Regions from separate parts of the Homo sapiens genome. Here regions 1 and 3 are each linked to region 2. Evidence: promoter capture Hi-C in 16 types of primary human blood cells and fetal thymus (Javierre and others, 2016). All regions are on one chromosome and are shown on one strand. The core of a region is centred on a gene start or on the middle of the fragment in contact, and the rest is flanking DNA. Distances in the headings are between cores, read along the strand shown.

Evidence for each region. The method cuts DNA at HindIII sites, captures the fragments that hold promoters and counts their contacts. A CHiCAGO score of 5 or more calls a contact.
Region 1: a fragment that was not itself captured here is called in contact with the fragment with the promoter of MUC5B in region 2 in 1 of 17 cell types (M0 macrophages); the score reaches 5.7 in M0 macrophages.
Region 3: a fragment that was not itself captured here is called in contact with the fragment with the promoter of MUC5B in region 2 in 1 of 17 cell types (M0 macrophages); the score reaches 5.1 in M0 macrophages.

What each region holds. Positions count from the first base shown.
Region 1 is chr11:1,495,970-1,498,669 of GRCh38, reverse strand. No RefSeq gene overlaps it. Among named protein-coding and RNA genes, the nearest start is that of MOB2, 11 kb to the right of the region's middle. The HindIII fragment of the contact is 5,700 bases long and covers 1-2,700 here.
Region 2 is chr11:1,221,708-1,224,444 of GRCh38, reverse strand. MUC5B (mucin 5B, oligomeric mucus/gel-forming) reads right to left here and starts at 1,379. Exons shown (of 49, transcript NM_002458.3): 1 at 1,252-1,379. The coding sequence starts at 1,321. RefSeq lists enhancers at 1-144, 145-840, 841-1,538. The HindIII fragment of the contact is 2,171 bases long and covers 513-2,683 here.
Region 3 is chr11:1,533,061-1,535,861 of GRCh38, reverse strand. No RefSeq gene overlaps it. Among named protein-coding and RNA genes, the nearest start is that of DUSP8, 38 kb to the left of the region's middle. The HindIII fragment of the contact is 2,884 bases long and covers 1-2,801 here.

The DNA.
Region 1 (2,700 bases), core at 60-2,559, 270 kb before region 2:
TCTTTGATTACAAGCAAAACACTGTGACCTCTTGGCTTTGTGCTGATGCACACACAGGCACACGTGCACATGCATACACACACACATGCACACATGCACATGAGTTTTGTGAGCCAGCAGTGCTGTGCATGCACCCTTGCTGAGAAGAGCTCACATCCTCGAGCCACACCTGACCGTAGAGCTCTTCCGTTGTGGCCCCATGATGCCCCCACCACGGCTGCGACGCTGCGATGGAGTATAAATCGCTAAGCTCAGGTAGCTCTGCTGTTCCGAGGAGCCGGGAGAACCGATGGAAAGCTGTTGTTAGGGAAAAGACTAGTTGGAGTGTTCACGGGGCAGCTTCTCTCTGGAGAAATTCTGTGCATGTCTTTGATAGAGATTGGATTCATGAACTGATTTTAAAAGAAGGGTGAGTGATTTTGGTGGGTACGTGTGTTCAAAGCCACACCCACCTCAGCTGTAATTTTCCCGCATCACCCAGATGATTTTGAAGGAAATTCTGAACATGTTTCATCCGTGACTATTCTGTATGTCTGTAAAGGAGAGGGATTCTTTTCCTTAAACATAAGATGTTTCATTATCATACCAAAAGTAGTGATTTCTTCATAACATTGAGTATCAAGCCTTTATGTTTGTCTGGTGTCTCATGACTTGTTTTTAGAGTGTTGAATGTGGATTCAAATAAGGTCCATGCGTTGCACTTGGATGACAGATTTTGAAACTCTTTAACTTTCTATTTTGAAATCATTATAAATTCATAAGAAGTTGCAAAAATAGCACAAATTCCAGGGCCACCCTCAGCTAGCCCCTACAGGGACAGCACCTTACACACTGGAGCGCGACATTGGACCAGAGGTGATGGGCACAGGTGCCGAGTGGTGACCAGGCTGCAGGCTCCGCCCCATGTCTCTGGATCCACTCCACCCTTCCTGTTTGTTTTTTTTCCCATCCACTTACTTTGTTAGTGGAGCCTGCCTGCTCTTCCTGTGATGTCTCCCAGGGTCTGAATTTTGCTAATTGCATGCTGTGGTATTGTTTAGAACATTCTTTTTATTTCCTGTAAATTGGCAGCTAGATTTAGACCTTGATCGCATTCTCATTCTTCTTTGGAGGCCAGTTGGCTCCGCTGGTGGCTGTGTTCCACCACAGGAGGTGCATAATATCTCGTTGTCTTTTTGTGTTGTTTGCAGCTACTGCTGACCTCTGCCTAGAACCTTCCTCTCAGTATAAGGCCAGTAATCCTATCTGGGGGGCCCCACCCTATTTCATGACTTCATCTAACCCTGATTACCTCCAGTGGTGCCATCTCCAAATAGCATCACAACACTGGGGGTACGGGCTTCAACCTGTGAATTCGTGGGAATTCCATCCATGACAATAGCCTTTTGATTTAAAGTGTTACTGGTGTCTAATGGAAATACAATTTTCTTTCCTTTGTATGCAAACTTACCTTTTATCAAAGGACTTTCTGTTCGTCATAAGTCTAGTAATATTACTAGAACGCCTTGGTGTGAGTTGGTCTGAGGTGACATGTGCCTTTTCCATATGTAGTTGCAAGTGTTTTTTCCCTTTAATTTTGTCTGCCATTTTCTCTTAAATGCTTTCTCTCTTTCCTCCTTTGTAGAAACTTTTAGTTTTTCAGAAGTTGACATATAATTTACAAACAATGAAATGCACGGATCTCAAGTATTCAGTTAAGTGAGTTTTGATGAATATGAATTCCCCTGTAGCCCACACCCCTGTCAAGATGCAAAATGTTTCCGTCTTCCCGGAAAACACCACCACATGCCTTACCAGTCAGCCCTGTTTGCCTGCCACCTCCCCTCCCAACAGGCAGCCACTGTCTGATTTATTTTCATCAAGGACTAATTGGGCCTTTTCTAAACATCAGATACATGGAGTCTGATGGTCCCCGCTCTTGTCTCTGGCGTTTTCCCACTGACATCACATCTGTGGGGCTTAGCTGTGCATTGCATCTTGGTGGTGGTTTTATGCTTTGGGTTGCTGAGTGGTGTTTTGTTGTATGAATATACTGTCGTTTGTTGAGCTGTTCTTCTGTTCATGGACTTTGGGTTGTTTCCAGTTTCTGGCTATTGTGAACACTGCTGCTGTGAACGTTCTTGTAGGAGCCTTTATGTGGATGTATGTTTTTGTTTCTTTTGGGTCAGTACTTAGCCATGGAATTATGGAATCCTACATGCATATTTAACTTTCCAAGAAACTGCCAGCCCTTTTCCTCAGTAGTTGTGGCTTTTTCCTCAGTAGTTCCTCGCCCTGCCTGTAGCGCATCAGTCTCCTGGTTCCTGCCTCCTCCACACCTTGGGTGTTCTCAGTCTGTGCAGGTTTAGCCATTCTGGAAGGCGTGGCACTTGCTCTTGTACTTATCGGCCATTATTTGTCTTCTTATGTAAAATGTCTGTTCCAGTCTTTTGCCCTTTTTAAATGTTGAGTTGTCTCTTTTATTGTTGAACTGTAGACCTGCTTTCTATAGTTTAGCTAGAAGTCTTTTGTTGGATATATGCCATCCGTGGCTTGCCTATTCATTTTTCTTAACAGTATATTGAATAGAAGTGTGTGTATGATTAAATTTTGATGAAATGTATTTTGTCACTTTTTGGTTAGTGCTTTTTACATTCTAGGAAATCTTTGCCTACTTTGAGCTTGGCACAGATACTGTCCGTGTTTTATTGTAGAAGCATT
Region 2 (2,737 bases), core at 130-2,629:
CTGACTGCCCTTGGTTATCTGCTCCGTGCAGTGCCCTCCTTGGGCTGGACCACCTGGGCCTCCATCTTGTAGCCAGAGAAGTGCCCACCACCAGCCACCCCATCACTTTGGGGTGTGTCCCCTAACATGAAGCTGCTCTGTGCAGGGCTGCCTTCCCCGGCCACAGGACGTGCATCTGGTGACTAAAGCACAGTCCCTGCCAAGGGCTTGATCTCCCCAACTTGGACGTGCGTGGAGGACAGGAGGACGGGTGGGCTGAGAGTCCCTAGGCCCTGCCTGCTCAGGTGAGGGGAGCCAAGGCTGCATGGCCCGGAAGAATCAGATGCAAGGAGGTGGCTATTCTGGTCAAACCAGCCCCCAAACCTTGCAGCCAGACGCAGCTCCCCCCGGGCCCAGGCTGGGAGCCACTGGGGGAAGCCCCCTGCCTCCAGCCCTGCTGACCACCCAGCCTCCCTTCCACAGATGGAGAGAGACCCCAGGGAGCCTCACCTGCCCAGCCCAGACCCCAAGCTTGGGAGGGGGTGGAGGGCGGGGCAGGGAGGGGCTGCAGCAGCCTCATGGCCAGCCCGGCTGGGTGTCTCCCGGTGGCCCCTGGGGCTGCATCTTTCTCTATTGACAGTAAGTATTAATGCTGCGGCTCTGGCCAAGAGACAGCAGACGAGGGAAAACGCTCGGCTGAGAGCCAGGCAGCCCGTGCGGCATGAGATGCCCACAGATGGGCCGTGGGAGTCGAGCGTGGGTTGAGGCCGGGGCTCTTGCGGCTGGCTGTGCAACCCTTGAGGGTGGTACCCTCACCTGCCCTGCCAGCTGTGATCCCCAGGGAGGTCGTGAAGGGTAGAGCCGGTCCTGGACAGGGGTCCACGCTAAGCCTGCCCCTGCTCACTCTGATGCCTGGGCCTCATGGGGCTCCAGAGAGACCCCCAGCTGTGACCCCCTCCCCCATTGCCCACTCCTGTCCCACCCCCAAGACCAAGACCCTTTCGGTGGTCTCCCAGGGGCCTTGCCCTGCGGTCAGGGGCCCACCTTCTCCTGGACACCCCATCCAAGCCAGCCCCTGAGTTTCCTGACACTGTGAGCCCGTGGGGCCCCAGAGCCCTGTGTTGGGGACGGGTAGGGTCCCATCCAGGACACTCAGGGAGTCGTAGGGGGATCTGCCCGTGCACTCTGCAGGAGAAGCTCCCAGGCAAGCGACCTGCAGAGACCCCCGCCGTGAAGACAGCATCGAGAGGGGGCGGAGTGGGGGGCTCTTACCTGCCTGCGGCACCACGAGCATGGCCGCCAGAGCCAACACCAGCGTCCGGCACGCGCTCGGGGCACCCATCCTGGGGGCTGGCACGGGTGGGGGGACGGGGACGGGCAGGGAGGGAGCCGGGCCGGGTGCTTGCTCCCCTGGGGGCCCCAGCTTATGTAGCAGGGAGCCTTGGCCCCAAGCCAGGCCAGGCCACGCAGGGCACCATGCTCTTCCCCGCTCCAGCCACGTGTGTTTGCTCTCGGGGAGGGGCTGTGGCAGGGGAGAGGCCTGGATCAGGAAGGATTTGCAGCTCTGTGCCCTGAGGCCCAGGACGCCCCCACCCCCAGCAGCTTCTGAGAATCGGAAGGGAGAGAAGGGCCTACCCCACCTGGCACCCGTCCTAGATGGCAAAGCCGCTGGAAGGCAGGGCTGGCCTTGGACGCAGGGTCCATGGAAACAGTGGTCAGCCAGCCTGCCTCACACTCAGCCCCACTGCGGCTCCTGCTGGAAGGGAATCCCAGCCTCTGGGCAGCACCCCCAGCCACTGACCATGGGTCCCCGAGGCCCGGGGAGGGCCCACGAGGCTGGAGCTCCCCTCCCACCACTGCTTAGCCCACGGGGAGGCCGGGAGGCTCCTGCTGAGCTCAGGCATGCACATGGCCAGGATGCTCAGTCTGGGTGGCTTGTGGGGGTCCCTGGAGGAGGCTCTATTTCCAGAGACCCCAGCCCAGCTGACCAGAGCCCCTTGAAGACCGTGGGAGGTCTCTGGGCTGATCTGTTTCAAGGTTCACATTCAAGGGGAAACTGAGGCCCAGAGTGTCTCCTGGCCATGCACATCGGGAGTCAGCTGCGCTTGTCCAATGCCAGCCCTGATCCAGCCAGGCCAGAGGCTCCGGCCCTGAGTCCCATTTGGCCTCCACCTCACTCTGGGGCCTCCTCATTAACCCTGGCAGGGTTGAGGAAGCAGCTGCTCCGGGGGGTCCTGGACCTGCCCGGGGTCCTCCGCCTGCCCCAGGTGGGAGCCGCAGAAGCCTAGCACCTCCGGCTGGTGTCGGGTGGGCTTCCTGGGGGCTATGTGGTAAACCTCCTTGACGAGCGTCATCTACAGGACAGACAGCGTCATCTGCAGGACACTCCGTCCGCGCTGCAATACCTCTTGCAAACACCTCCTGCCCGTGTGACCTGCACCTCAGATGCTCCCACCTCCTGGCTCCCTGGTCACCAGCGTCCTGAATGCTCCGTGGCGCAGACGCCAGGCAGGAAGCACCAGGTCGGGTGGTGTGGCCTCGTCCGGCCCCATGGGGACCCTAGGGTGGTGTCCAGGTCTGTTGTTTTATTTACGTCACAGTCCCCGTCACGGGCCCTGCACCAGCTCCCCCGCGTTTGTCTTTCTGAAGTTAAATTCTTAGAGGTGGGATTTCTGGGACAAGACGAAAGCCCATCTTCAAAGCTTCTGACCTGTCTCACGCTCAATAGGATGGCGGGGATCAAGAAACACAGGAAGTA
Region 3 (2,801 bases), core at 114-2,613, 310 kb before region 2:
GTCTTGTCTTCAACTGACAACAGGCATTTGTGAAGAGGTGTGTGTGCAGTCAGTGTTACCCAACGGAACGCACAGCCCAGGAGCAGCTGAGCATCTGGGAATACAGGAGAGGAAACACACTTCCTCCCCTCCCGACTGATGGGAATGTAGCCGCCCTCCTGCTGGCCCTGCACAGGGCCCAGTGTGGTGGAGTTTGTGGGGAAAGGCCCCTCTCCTCCAGGCACCTTCTCTGGCTGGCCACAGCCAGGGCAAGGGGGCACGTATCTCAGGCACCCTTCCTTGGGGCTCTCCTGGCTCCTTCTGAGGCCGCACGGTGCCTTGACACCAGTGCCCTGGTTACTCTCCAAGCAGCAGGTGAACTGTGGGTTAGCGGGCTCGGGCTGTGGCACCACAGTGCTGGTGATTGAATACAGACTGCAGGTGAATGGGGAGGGCCTCTCTGGGGCCGCTGGCCTGTGCTTACTGACTCAGCTCTGATTGAAGACAGACTGCAGGTGAGTGGGGAGGGCCTCTTTGGGGCTGCTAGCTTGTGCTTACTAACTTGGCTCTCCCAGCTGCCTTCAGGGGTCCTCCTCTCTGACCGAGATAAAATCTCGTGAGTGTGTGTCTCTGCAGGAATGTGAATGGAGTGATGATGACCTTGTTTTTCTTCTTTCTTTTCTTTGCCGCATGGGAGGATGTTACTGGTGGTTGACAATTGATTCTGATTATGAGGACACCCAGGCTGAACTTGCTTGAATCTCTAGAGTTCTTTTAACAGCCTCATTGAGGTATAATTTACATACCATAAAGTTAACTTAAGTTTGCAATTAAATAATTTTTGGTAAAATTACAGGGCTGAGTAACCATCACCACAGTTTAATTTGAGAACTTTGCTATCATGCCCCAGAGAAGCCTCATGTCCACTGGCACTGCTCCCCATCCCCACCTCCAGCCTCGAGGCGGCCACCAGTCTCCCGCCATCTGTGTGGGTGAGCTGAATCATGCAAATGGAATCCCAGTACACGGGCTGTGTGCCTGTCCTATGCGGCGCAGTGTTGCGAACGTCCATCCATGGCGTTGCGTGTGTCTGCAGCTCCGTCCTCTTCATCACCAAGTGCAATTCCGTCCTGGGGAGATGTGCATCTGCCACTCTCCTTCCACCACTGATCCGCGGTTTGTGACTGTGACTTTTAGGACAGTGAGCTGGGCCTGTTCCTCAGCCGGGGGCCCCAGATTCCTGAGTTCATGGGCTGCCGTGTACCAGGCTCTGTGCTGGGGCGGAGGTCCAGAGATGGAGACACAGCCATTCCCGCTTTCCTAGAGCTGTCAGGCTGGTAGAGAAGGGCCCCAGGCAGCAGGAGAATTGAGGAGTGGGTGAGTGCGGCCAAAAGCAGGGGGCTCGGTTAGAGCAGGTATGAAGGGCTTTTCCAAGAGGGAAGGAGGAAGGAGGTGGCCCAGGAAGAAGCAGCAGCACATGCGGAGGTGTGAGCAGAGAAGCCGGCTGGCCCAGGTCTGCTGTATCTCCAGCGGGCAGCCCTGGAAGGTCTGGTTTCAGGAATAGCCTCTTTCCATCAGGGCTCCACCAGGGCACTCTTAGGCCTGGGTTTCAGAGGTGTTTGCCTAGGGTGGTGTTGCATTCAGAGTCCTCTTCTTTAAAAAAAAGTTTTCCATCATCCCTCCCGTTTCCAAATTAACCTTAAAAAGAGCAGTGGTCGGCCAGGTGCAGTGGCTCACGCCTGTAGTCTCAGCAGTTTGGGAGGCCGAGGCGGGCGGATCACGAGGTCAGGAGGTTGAGACCATCCTGGCTAACACGGTGAAACCCCGTCTCTACTAAAAATACAAAAAATTAGCCGGTCGTGGTGGCGTGTGCCTGTAATCCCAGCTGCTCGGAAGGCTGAGGCAGGAAAGTCACTTGAACCCGGGACGTGGAGGTTGCAGTAAGTGGGGATGGCGCCACTGCACTCCAGTCTGGGTGACAGAGTGAGGCTCCATCTCAAAAAAAAAAAAAAGCAGTGGTCGTGGATACATGGAGCCCTTTTTAGAATGAGCCTCCCCGTAAACCCCTAGCGACACCCCTCCCATTTCTCCTGCTCGGACTGACTACTAGGAACCCTTGCACAAGTGTCCTTGAAGCTGGGGGTGAGCCCACCAGGGGAGCTGCAGACGGCCTCCCCTGGTCGGGGGCTGGTAGACAGCAGGGCTGCGTTTCTCATCACGAGTGTATCTGAGACAGCGCAGCCCCCACCTTTGCCACCACCAAGTGCCACCCTTGTGTCCTGGCTCATGAGGGCCTCTTCCCAGCCCTGGGAAAGCCAGCCACCCTAGGGGTCTGCCTGCCAAGTGCTGCTGTCAGATCGAGCAGGGGCTTGGTGTACCACCAGACCCCCTCTCCAGAGGAAGCTGTGGTCTCTGCTGCGGTCATCCGGTACGGGAGGAGGGGTGTTGAGGCCACTGTGAGGGAGGACCCCTGTGCCATGCCCCTGTCACCCCAGTGTTTCTCCTTTGTCCACACAGCGGTCTGGGTTAGAAACACCAGGGCCCACTGCAACTTTTGTTAGGGCCACTTAGTGCTGGTTGGGAGCCACAGGGCCGTGGCCTTTGTTTCTCCGTGGTGATTACTGCTTGTGCAGCCTCCTGCCAGTGCTAGACCTGTCTGGAAGGGAAGGGCGTGTGCTGTTCCCGTCTGTCTTTGGCCAGAAGAGCCTCCCATTCTTTGCCTTCACCATGTTTGTTTTTTTCTGCACAGGATTTCTCCTGGCTGGGGCACACCCATTGGTGTTCAGTGGAAGTAGAAACAATTGGAACAAACAAAATGTGGA